Linked DNA regions of Homo sapiens: region 1 is linked to region 2. Evidence: promoter capture Hi-C in 16 types of primary human blood cells and fetal thymus (Javierre and others, 2016). All regions are on one chromosome and are shown on one strand. Each heading gives the region's core, a stretch centred on a gene start or on the middle of the fragment in contact. The rest is flanking DNA. Distances are from core to core; before and after follow the strand shown.

Evidence for each region. The method cuts DNA at HindIII sites, captures the fragments that hold promoters and counts their contacts. A CHiCAGO score of 5 or more calls a contact.
Region 1: a contact is called between the fragment with the promoter of SEPTIN7-DT here and the fragment with the promoter of ANLN in region 2, in 1 of 17 cell types (fetal thymus). The highest score is 9.1, in fetal thymus.

The regions. Positions count from the first base shown.
Region 1 is chr7:35,798,082-35,804,554 of GRCh38, reverse strand. It overlaps SEPTIN7-DT (SEPTIN7 divergent transcript), which reads left to right and starts at 3,930. Exons shown (of 5, transcript NR_120512.1): 1 at 3,930-4,065. It overlaps SEPTIN7 (septin 7), which reads right to left and starts at 3,498. Exons shown (of 14, transcript NM_001788.6): 1 at 3,285-3,498. The coding sequence starts at 3,345. RefSeq lists silencers at 2,587-3,036, 3,067-3,306 and enhancers at 3,457-3,846, 3,461-4,084, 4,207-4,266. The HindIII fragment of the contact is 5,766 bases long and covers 1,162-6,473 here.
Region 2 is chr7:36,387,863-36,394,038 of GRCh38, reverse strand. ANLN (anillin, actin binding protein) reads right to left here and starts at 4,177. Exons shown (of 24, transcript NM_018685.5): 1 at 3,995-4,177. The coding sequence starts at 4,012. It also overlaps a transcript of MATCAP2 not described here. RefSeq lists enhancers at 3,351-3,941, 3,942-4,532 and a silencer at 4,123-4,532. The HindIII fragment of the contact is 7,726 bases long and covers 1,591-6,176 here.

The DNA of each region.
Region 1 (6,473 bases), core at 2,681-5,180, 590 kb after region 2:
CCCATGTTCTAAATCATTATTAAGATTTTGAACTCAAACCCCAATGTGTAATCCCTACATCTGGATAGCTGGACTGCACCAAGTGTAAGTCACAAGGATTTAGTGTGTGTCTGGTCTACGGCCTTCAACACTTAATGCCAGCCAAGCTGCCTCTTTGGCCCCTCTTCCCCAAGCCCATGCTCAAAGCTTAGTCTCCAGATCTCTGATGATGCAAAAGGACACAGGAAGACAAAAACAAAGAAAAGATTCATCCTCAAGGCCTAAAGCAGAGTCACCGAATGCTACCCTTTTCTTTTGGAAGCCACCCTGGTTTCTGGCTATGGGGGATAACATCCTCTCAAATAGGAGTAGGCCTCAGATCTCTCTAACCATGCGAGCTACATGGAGTACAGGATAAATGAATCCAAAGTAAGAAAAAGCCACACGGACTTAACAGTCTTTAATTTTAAAGTCTTCCTTCCTCACACCAAGACCTCCAACCCCTAACATAAGGTTCGAAGACCTTAGATTTGACTCATCCATACTGTACATTTTGACCACAATCCTTAAAAAAAATTACTTCCCCACCTAGTACACAATACCTGAAAGAAAATTTAATCTCCCTCAAAATATTAAGTGCAATGTCCACTAATGGGTCACAACCTGCAGTCTTCAAAACACTGCTGTAGAGTTCAATGGTCTACATTTAACAGTATGCTCTCATATAGCGAACTAAACCCATAATCAAACTACCTTACAATTCTGCTCCTTAAAAACATAATTTTTCTTCAGTTTCTATTGTATAATAAAGTTTATCTTTACAGTCCAAACTTAGTACAAAAAAAGAAGTATACAAAAAGTTTTGTCTCAAAACTTAGTAAAAGACATAAATCATTAGTTTAAAATGTTCAACTTATAATCAAAAATTGAAGATAGCTTATTAATTCAAAATGTGAAACACATTTCTCAGCAGGCAATTTAGTCAGGTAGGAATTCTCTATCGGCAATTCCCAGAATACAGTCTACAATGAATATGTATATCATCAAATTATACAAAGTCTGAAACTAATCTGCTCTACCACTATCCTTATTCTGACTGGTCCCTCATCTGATCACTCTCCATTACTGAGACCTTAGAAGCCATAGATGTAACTCTTCTTCCTCCCTCTTCTCCCCCAAGCTTTGTTGTTGTTGTTGTCCTAGCATATTCCTCTAAATTCTCCTAGGTTCTGTAAGGATTCCTAACTTGCCTCAGACTTGTTCAGAAGTTCTGGCATGGATTTACTTAAAATGACTTCTACGGGACAATGTGCAAATCTGAACAACCAATTTTATCACAAACTTCTGAAATACAATCTTTTAACACTACCTTTCATGTATTATGTATGCATCAAATATCTCCAAACCAAAGCCTGCAACAAAAATTGTTAAGCTACATTAGAAAAAGACAATATCCTTTCTTTTTAAAGGATAAGAACTAATTAAAATCAACTTAACATTTCTGTTATTTGTTGTGAATTTGAATTCTGTAAGCCTAAGATGTGGTAAAATATGTATTTTTAATAACTGTGTTATGAAGACCTGGTTCCATCATGTTGTCCCATCATAGAATAAGACAATGCTACCATGCAAATCACCTATGTAGCTTCCACATTTATTTCATAGCTTCACTCAACTCTTATCTCCTTTAGTCCCACCCACTGAACAGCTGAATGAGATGAAAGATTGTTTACTGCTCTCCCGCCACGACCGTACCACCCCCCCATCACCACCCAACCACCCCTTACTCATTCCCTTGCAGTCTGAAGAAATAAAGAATCCAAGCAGCAATAGCTGACTTGGTCATTGTTTATATCCCCCCTTCAGTCTATCAGGATTCCATAAATTTCATCCCTACCTGTACACTTTTAAGTCTAAAATACTCTCCTCCCCATGTCTGCACATAAACTTTAGGGGGAAAAACTGACTATACTCATCACCTGCATGTGCATAAATATGTAAAACAGGTTAGATGCTTAGTAATTTAGATGATCTGTTCATTTACATTCTCAGGGGCACTAACAAAGATATTTTTTCCTTTCATCAAAATAAAAAAGCCAGAAGAAAGAATTCTTAAAGCTGAACTATTTAGCAATAAACTCAAGAAATGTAGTAAGTTATTATTTCAGTAACTAAGAAAACACCTGGACGTCACAAATTCTTTCCTAGGACTGTAAAAACCCAAATTTGAAACAGTGTACTCTTCAAAAGTAACTCAGCAAATGGAAATGTCCTAGAAAAATCTCGGTTGCTTATTTCTTACTATACACACAGCTGAAATGGAACTCAGGAGTGGAAAATGTAAATGAAATGGCCTGTTCTTTTTCCAACATGTGGGGGAGGAAAGGAAATGAAAGGGCTCGTTAAGAGAATAACTGAGAATATTGAAATATTTTCAAAAATTAATTTCCCTAAACTTCGCCACTCCACATCTCCGCTCCCTCCCTTTTCCAAGGACCCTTCCCACCCTTTCTATCTCCTCCGGGGGGCGCCCTTCCCAGGCGTTCTCTTTCCCTTACTCCTAAAAATTAAGCCCAAATTCCAAACCAAACTACCGATTCTCCCTCCGTTCTCAAGACTCGCCCGCCATCCACCGGCCTTCCGGGCTGCGCCTGGAGAGAGGCAACCCCGAGAGGCGGGAGGAGGAGCGGGGAGGCGACGCGGTGACTGGAGCTGCGGCTGCAGCCGCCGCCGCCGCCTCCACCACAGCCTCAGCCTGGTGCATCCTTCTTCCTCCCTCCCCGCCGCCGCCCGCCCGGGTTGGCCCACACAGCACCCTCGCCCGAGCGTTCACACTCGTCCCCACCCTCCTAGCCAGGCCCACTGCCCCACGAGGGGACTTCTGCCGACGGGGATGCGGCCGGGGACAGGAGGAAGCGGGGCCGCGGAAGCCGGCGGGCCCGGGAGGAGACTGAGGAAAGGCGAAGGGACGGAGAGAAGCAAGGGCAGGGCTGAGACCACCACGCTCAGGCTGCTCCGGCCGCGGAGGCCGCGGCTCTGCGCCGGGGGCCAGCCCGCCGCGGCACAGGAAATGCCGCCGCCTCGGCTCTCCTCACGTTCAATTCAAACTGTCACCGCCGCCGCCTCCCCTCCCCCCGAGCCCGCCGCTGCCGCGCCCCGGGCCCGCAGTGGCCCCCATCCCGGCTCCCCTCGCCGCTGCCTCCGCCTCGCCTCAGGGCGTTCCCTAGCTCGGTCCAGCGGCCGCAGAGCTTCCCGGCATTCGGAGCCGCTGACCCCAAGTCGCGGCACCCGAAGCTGAGACTCACCCATGGTGCTGCTGTTGACGCTCCTCTCCTCAGCAGCAGCGGATCTCGCACTGACCGACATCCCCTCCCCCCCTCCGCGACCAGCCCCAGCGGAGCGCAGCCCGCCGATTCTCCAAAGGCGCCTACGCCGATTCCGCAGCGTAGCCGCCCGGCGTAGCTGCCTTGCTTACGCACGCTACAGCAGGCGGACTCCTCCACAGGCTCTCGCTCGACTCCCGCTCCCTCCTCCGTCCCCCGCCCCCTCAGACGAGGCTTCCGGGCCTAGCGGAGGCTGGCTTCCATCTCGCGAGATTACCGCCTCCCCAGCTCCGCCGCCTCGCTCCATTTCGAGCATGACTTCATTGGCGTCAGCAACGTTTTGCTGTTCGGGTTTAGCCGCCATGTTTAAGTTGGCCGGGTTTCGCACCACTGAGGTCATGGATACTCAGGCCTCTTTGCGTGTTTCTTCAACACTGCTTCTAAGGTTAACCGCGTTACATTTGTTGGAGAAAATCCTGGGAACGCTGAAAAGGACTAGTGGGTGGGGTGCGAGGGTGGGGTCTTGCCCGAATTAAAGATGGCCGCAGTCAGCTCTGCCCCGCGCAATTTCACGTCAAGTTTTGGAGCTGCGGGAGCCGGCCAGTTGGCCTCAGCGCCTCCTTACGGAATTGGCGTAAGGCAAAGAGGCGCGGCTGGAAGAACCAGACTGAGAAAGTGCCACAGGGCGGGGGCCGCATCCGCCCCTCGGCTTCTGGTTACTGACCCGACGGCTTTGTGAGTGAAAGTGAAGAGACACTTCGAGGCAGGTGTCTGTGCTCCCCATTCATCCCTGTTTCCGTGGCTATCTTGACTTTCGGGGTGAAAAGTGAGGTTAGGCCCTGTTTCCCCGACCCTTCCCTCGCGCCATCACACTCTAGTGGCCTGGCACAGCCCCAGAGGTCGGCCGCTGTAGCCCCCATTGCGGACTCGCCACATTCATATTGGCTCACCTTGTCGGTGCCCGGTTCGGTCCTCTTGGAGCTCACACTCCAGTTGAGGAAATGAATGGACACAGGAACTACTGGGTAACAAAATACTAATAAAGGGCTGCGATTGTGTGAGTTTCTACTGTAGCGATGAATGTCGCTGTCATTGGAACGTTCCCCAAGTGCCTTCTAGTGAAAGCCTTACTTCACTCGGAATAACCTGTGGTCTTTTCTTGAACGTGATGGCTCTCTTGGTTGTATTCTTCATGCACATGTGTTACTTTTCCTGTTTAACTACATGTTAAAGAAATGTGTATGTTCCTGTTTAACTGCATGTTTTAAAAAAGTATGTGTATTTTTAAGTTATAGGCACGTGCAAGAAAGTTCAGAGCAAAATAGCTTATATTAGTGAAACAATAAATGTCTACTAATAGGAGAATGGATGAATAAGTGTCATTGTTGAACAAATTGACATACAACACGAACCAAAAAATCAGTGAACTAAAGCTACCATTTTTCATATGGATAGAGTCATTAACCTAATATTGAGGAAGAAATGAAAAGACAGGTTGCGGAAAGATATATATGACATACCATAAATAAAAGTTTAATAATTACAAAAAAGTAAGATCAAACTAAAAATTGTATAAGGAAATGATAGATACCAAATTCAGAATACTGGTTGCTTCCAGAGATGAACAGAAGGGAATGTAACAAGAAGGGTTCATTTGTATCTATAACGTTTGTTTTCTACCAGAAATATCTTGAAAATGTGGCAAAACATTAAGCTAAGTAGAGGGCACATGGGTGTTCACTTGTAATTATTTCCTTTACTGTTCTATATACTTGAAATATTTCCAAGTAATTTTTTTTAAGAAAAGAAACTTATAGAAGCAACTTATTTTGTATCTTGATATATGCCATTTCGTAAGTCTACATTTTTACTGAACTGCTTATGAAGTCTGTTGCAACTTATCTGTTCAATCATTGTTTTAAGTTTCTGAAACTTCAAATGAACTTTTACTTTGGGAAATTTTGTTGAATTTCTATTTTTGAAAAAAAGCAGTGTACCAAGGAGGGTAAATGTATATAGCCTCCGGAGTCAGACTGCCTGAGTTCAAATCCCAGCTCTCCATTTATTAGGCTTGCAACCAAGAACAAGTTACTTAAACTTTCCTGTGATCCAGTTTCCTCATCTATAAACGGAGATAATACTTATCTAACAGGATTTTGATAAGAGTTAAATAGACTAATACATGAACACGGTGCTTAGTCAATGCTTAGTAAATATTACCTAAATATAGATTATTTTAAAATATAAAATTAAAGCAAATACTTATATTAATATAACCTAATAGTCTAAAGGAAGTAAATCTTTGCCTCCCATCTCTATTGATAATATTTCTTTGAGGAAGATCTCTTAATGGGTATGAAAGAGGTGAATTGTGTTATTTTGTGCTATGAAAATGGATAAATTCTTAATAGAAACTATATTAAATTCCTTGTCTGAAGTTTGTTCATGTTCACCCCACACTATGATAGCTTCACTACTTTTCATTGAAAATCACACAGAGTGGCCGGGCGCGGTGGCTCACGCCTGTAATCCCAGCACTTTGGGAGGCCGAGGCAGGCAGATCGCCTGAGGTCAGGAGTTCGAGACCAGCCTGGCTAACATGGTGAAACCCCGCATCTACTAAAAATACAAAAAATTAGCCGGGTGTGGTGGCGGTACCTGTAATTCCTGCTACTCGGGAGACTGAGGCAGGAGAATCACTTGAACCCAGGAGGCGGAGGTTACAGTGAGCCCAGATAGCACCACTGCACTCCAGCCTGGGCAACAAGAGCGAAATTCCGTCTCAAAAAAAAAAAAGAAAAAATTATACGGAGTGTTACAGGCAATGAAATAATGATATTCTGAGGAACTTTCTTTGTAGGGAGGTTTCATAGCCAATGTTCTATAATGTATATACATGTGTTATGCAAATTATACGTGGTGCACGAGGAAAGAGAATTGTATTGATCTTATGATCTCTTTATTGCACTTATTTGCAATATTTATGATCTCTTTATTGCATTTATTTGTTAATAAAATATAGCCTAGACTTTACTGACTCAGAAACAGATTTAAAAAAACTGATCTGAAATTCTGGACAGACCATATAGATGGTTTCCACCACATATTTACAGCGTCCAAACTCACGTGGGCCTTCAACTTTACCAAGCAATGCTTGTTTCCCTAGTTGGC
Region 2 (6,176 bases), core at 2,928-5,427:
GGCTGCAGTGAGCTGTGATCGCTACTGCACTCCAGCCTGGGTAACAGAGTGAGACCCTGTCTGTAAACAAATAACTAGGACCTAAGGCCATGCCAGGCAAGGGTTAAGTCACAAACTCCCTACACTTAAAAAATAAACTATCTTCTAACTGCCAAAGTTTTTCTTTTACTCTAGTAGCTGAACAAGCACTGACCTTGAGATAAGCAATAAATATTAAAACAATTGCAGCTCATCTTCCATCAGACACTGACTAACCCTCCTGCTCCACAAGCTACAGCTACAGCTTTAATTGGACAAGAGATTGATTTCAATAAATCTATCTCAGTAAGAAGACCACCAACCATGAACTGATTCTGGCCAGTTTACAGAGGCTGCTCACTTGAATGCCTTCATGTCCCCACCTCACCTTTTGACATATAGGGCCCAACTGTAATGTATTTCCACGTTAAGTCTTCATCCCAAAGTGAACATGGGATGCATGTAACTGCACGTTTGTTCAGTACCCACCCATCAGGACCCCTTTGTAAATACTCATAGCTCTGCCTATAACCTGTTGAATATGTATACCTGGCTAACCCTTTAGGCATAAATCCCTGTTCCAGCTTCTCCTCTCTTGAAGTGCCTGTTTCCAGTCTCTGCCCGAAGCTATTAAATATGTTTCCCAGCCTGTCAGGATGGCCACACTGTAGGCTGTAAGCCTTTATAAGAAAGTCTCTGCTGGGCACAGTGGCTCATGCTTGTAATTCCAGCACTTTGGGAGGCCAAGGCAGGCGGATCACTTGAGGCTAGGAATTTGAGACCAGCTTGGCAAACACGGTGAAACCCCATCTCTACTAAAAATACAAAAATTAGCCAGTTATGGTGGTGCATGCCTGTAGTCCCAGCTACTTGGGAGGCTGAGGCAGGTGAATCACTTGAACCTGGGAGGCAGAAGTGACACCGAGCCAAGATCGCACCATTGAGCTCCAGTCTGGGCGAGAACGAGACTCTGACTCAAAAAAAAAAACGAAAAAAGAAAAAAGAAATAATGTCTCCTTTCTAAATTAATAAATTTGTAATTTTTCAATTGCTATATCTCTCACTTCCCAGATACAACACTAGCCTAATTATATTCATTCGTGGACATGCCCACATTCCATTCTGGTCAGTTAGAACATTTGTGAGTCAGTACAGCTTCAGTTACCATGAGCAGTAGGTCACAACAAAAGAATGTGATTTTGTCATTCAAACGTATATGAATGTTCTATTGCTTACATTAGATTCAAAAATTCCCAGATTAAAAAAAAATTAAATAGATACACAAAAAAAGATCCCTAATCTGTGAAGTAAAGCTATAAACACCAAAGGTTATTAAATTAAAAGAAATTATATATCTTAAATATATAAACTCAATAGCTCAATAAATGTAAGTAGCCGTTCCTTATAATAGTATATCAGGAATTTTAAAACTCTTTTAAATACAAGGTATATTCCTTGAAATATCACACCTTTCTCAAACAGTGTAGGCATTAAAAAAAAAAAAAAACCACTGCAATAACATATTCAAGAAGTAGGATAGCCCACATGTATGAATCTCAGGTAACTGAAGCTTATAGTCCCTGAACAACTTTTGCCACATACACCCCAAAGTCATCTCTGACAAATTTTTCTAGGAGATTTTACTAATTTCCTTGCCTTCTTTAACACAGTAGACTCAATATAAATTAACTTCTTATTATTTTCAATATGCTCTAGCAGCTCTTCCCCAGGGAACTTCATTTAATTCTGGAAAATAAGAGAAATTCCACTAAAAATGGTAGTGGCATGTTTATTTGCATACTTATTTATATGCAGCCTGCAGACATAAAAGGATCTAAAGCGTCTACAATAAAATATGCTTCTGTGAAGTATTTTAATTATAGCTTTTTCTCTTTTAAGGTTTTTATAAAGAAAGTTCTGGATTGGTACACTTCACTCTGGGTTTCTTTGTAGTATTCTTGTACTGGGATGACTATCACCTGTGAGTAGAGCTTCAAACTCTTGACGTTATGAGTAGTGAGTTTATGGTTTTGTCACCTGGGCGACACTGCGAGACTCCGTCTTAAAAAAAAAAAGAGTGCCAGAACAGTATCAGCGACCACAGGGAGGAAGACCAATGCAGAACAGTCTTGTTTGAGGAAAAGAGAGTTTACCATGATTGTAACCTTTCTCAACTGGAGTTACCAAAATAATTAAGCCCTAATACGCTGGCGTTAATATGATAGACTTATTTCCTATGTTTGTAGGGTGGCATTGAATTATCCTTGGGAGAATTGAGAAAATAGTCTCTCAATTTTCCTGTGTACCATGGTTCTGAGAGGAAACCCTGGTTGAGAGAGTCATTTTATACTGACTTTCAGTTGATAGACAACTGTACCAGTAGCTCATTTCACTGTGCAAATGTTATGAATGCTATAATTAAGCACCCAAGAGTTGGAATCAATTCAAGTAGTTCATTCATTACCTATTAAGGAAAAGACGTCTAAGCTGTTTTTCCAACTGCAAGTGATCTAACTTTTCATAATATAAACCATACATATTTCTGAGCACATCCTAAAACGATCTAAACAGGTAAAGTTTCTTTCAGTTGAGATTTGTACTACCTTCAGAATGACATTTTTAAGTAAAATGAAGTGCAATTTTCAGCCAACTTAAAAATGCTTTGTTCCTGTCTGTTACTTAGGAAGACACATAGGGCTAATGTTTTAAGGAATCGTATTCTAGTTTAGATAAAATAAATACACGCTTTTCGACCTCAGTGTAAGTGAAAGATACTTGGTGCATGACCAGCCCTATTTTAAGGCTAATACAAAAATAGGCTCTAGATTTTTCTATTAGAACCTTTAAGGAAGGTGAAAAAAATTGATGTATTTGTCCCAAGATGATTAAGAATTTGAAACAGAAAAATAGATTATGTCATGCTTGAATATAAGTAAACTCTAATTGCTGAAATCTGTAATTAATATCTCATACATAACTTATAGAATTATAATTACATCTCCCCGAAAGAATTACCACTCTTCACAGCATTTAAGTTTTTGAATCAGTGTAAACAGTTTTAGGTCCACTTTGCAACACTCAAAAACTAACAGTTTGAAATTTGCACAACAGCCTAAAGAAAGAGGAACTGTCCTGGAATAAAAGAGAGTGGACAACTGGCAACAAAACACTCCTGAATGTGACAACGCACATTCTCCACAAAAGCTAAAACTAGAGAAATCGACACAATAACCATGTAACCCATATGCAATCTCAAAGGAACAAAAGATGAAATAAGTACTGTAATGATATGCCCCAGAAACACCGAAAAGTTTATTTCTTTGCTCTAAAATCGTGAGCTGATAGTTTTGCTCGGTACACTTGCATTGTTTCAATTAAAATGGTCAGTCCCGGGTATGAACTTCTTCGTTAGTTAGCTGAACAATGGGATCTCAAGGAACTACTGGCTTTTTATGAACGAATGCAGTGGTTTCTAGCACCTGCTTATTTTAACGTTTTGCTGTCATTTCATTAGCATCTCCCCTGCGGGCTGCGTGAACTCCGCAAATCACACATCCTACTGCCTTTCCCGGCGGCAGCCGCACTGAGTCACCGGCCCCGGACCCCGCCCTGCAGGGCATTCCAGCTGCTTCCAGCAGGACCCGTTCCGCAGGCCTGCGCCTCACTCTTGCTGCGCCAGGACTGCAGAGGGACATGGTAAAAACGGGGGCTGAAAGACCTCTCGCAACAGCCTTTTAGGACAGACTCAAAGCCTTCCTCCCTGAGTTTTATCTGTAGGACCGAAACAACAAAATCTCAGAGGAACCCACCAACCACAGCAGGCCGCAGCCGCGGCGACCCCGGCCCGCACACACTGCGCACGCGCGCACACACGCGCCCTCCGCCCGGTGGGGGTTCGCCCAGAGGTTGACAGAGGAAGGTGGGTGGGGGCCTAGAGCGGTGGGTCATGGCTGGCTGCACCCGCAAACTCACTCACCTCCGTAAACGGATCCATCGCCCCAGGCGTCGGACTACGAGACGATGGAAACGGTGGTTCAAATTCAGGAAGAGAAAAGTGAGTCTCAGCTCAGTGTGTCTCCTGGAAAAAACCAGGAGTCTGAGGCGGGGGAACTCTCCCACAACCAGCTGTCCTCTCCTCTCGGCTTCCAGTGACGGACTCGGCCTCTGCAGCCGTTCAAATTTGAATTTCAGCGCCGAGCCGCGAGCATGCGCGCTGGGCGGAGCCGGGGCGCCCTCTCCCCGCCCCTGCGCTCGGTCACGTGGCCGCGCCGGGCCGGGTGGTTCCCAGGGGCGGCCCCGCCTCCTTCCCGGCCCCCTCCCAGCCCTCGCCGCGGGGTGGAGGCGGGCAGCGGGGCGCTTCCTGCTCTCCAACGGCGTCGGGTTCCTGGCTCCACCCCCAACAACCACACATTCCCCTCAGCTTTAAGGCGATTGCTTCACACCAACCGCGTTTGGGTGTTCCCGCCTTCCTTCATTCCTAAATAAAGTATTAAGGCCGGGAGTAGTGGCGCATGCTTATAATCCCAGCATTTGGGGAGGCTGAGGCTGGAGGATCGCTTGAGCCCAGGAGGTCATGGCTGCAGTGAGCTGCGATCTCACTACTGCACTCCAGCCTGGGCGGCAGAGTGAGACCCTGCCTCAAAAAAGAAAAAAAAAGGATTAAGAGCCCTTGTGTTGGCAGGACATAATCCCAGCACTGTGGGAGGCCGAGGCGGGCAGATCACGAGGTCAGGAGTTCAAGACCAGCCTTGCCAACATGGTGAAACCCCGTCTCTACTAAAAATACAAAAAAATTAGATAGGCATGGTGGCGCGTGCCTCTAATCCCAGCTACTCGGGAGGCTGAGGCAGGAGAATTGCTTGAACTGGGACCCGGGAGGTGGAGGTTGCAGTGAGCAGAGATCACACCACTGCATTCCAGCCTGGGCTACAGAGCCAGACAAAGAGCCCTTGTGTTTCAGGTGCTGCTAGCCCGTTGGCCTTCAGTAGCTTTGTTTCCTAGGTCACACCCAACTCCTAGTCCCCAAAAGGGGGACTGCAGGCCTGGCCCTCAGAAAAGCCAGTTCCGGTGGGTCCCCGACACTCTAAGCCAATGAAATAAAGCTAAAATTAACAGACTGTGTGAAGCGTTCATGCACAATTTTTTATTTTAAATTCCATCCAACTGTGTACAGTGTTAGAGCGGGAGGAATTCTGACAAGCCCTCTATCTAGTTCAATCCTTCCTTTTACTGCCGAGAGAAGGGACACCCGAAAACGTTAAAGAAACTGGTCCAAAGAAATGAAAACCCTGTTCTCAGCTCATGACCCGTTTTCCACACTAGCTAAGGCTGTGTCTCCTGCTTATTCTTTGTAGAGTACTCCAAATTGTAAGATAGGTTACATAATTTCTGTATCAGATTCATTTCTTCTATAACAAGTCTGTGCAGGTAAAGATGACAGTTCTTGATTTGTTCATCTGAAAAGTTAAGAGTGACTGTCCATGAGCTGAACAAAACAGAACTATTCCTCCCAACTGAGTGGTTTCAATATGTTTAATAATATGTCCATCTTAGCAGTCAATCAACATTACAAAAAGAATTTACTAATATTTTTAATTTGAATTTTTGTATGATAAATTGTACGTGACTGAAATCACGGCAAGAGGTAAGGGAAATATTGCTTGGGGTCAGGGCTCCACCCAGTTAGCCAAATCGGTTAACCCATGGGTTTTTTTTTTTTTTAACCTTTGTGGGGAGTCATGGACTCCTTTGGAAATATGTTAAAACTGACCCTCTACCTAGAAAAATGACCATTTAATCATAAACTATTTAACAGGATTTTGTGAAGTTCATGGACACCAGGACAAGAACTTCTGATTTAGCCTGTTTGTATTTTAGTTTACTTATCTGTGTAACAGGAATAATCATCTGCCCTGATTTCCTCAGAGTTGTTAGGAGGGGCAGATGAAAAATGGAGAGACATAATCCAAAAATATTTCATAATAAGTAATAAGACACTGTCCGAGTGTGTAGTATATGGAATTATTAATATTTAACCCAGAATGTGTTACTTATGAACAAAGGAAAAAGATACTTCCATTTTTTTCAAGTGTGACAAGAAAGGTGTGTATGTATTTGGGGCGTGTCTGTGTGTGTATGCGTGTTTTAAACAACGTTGG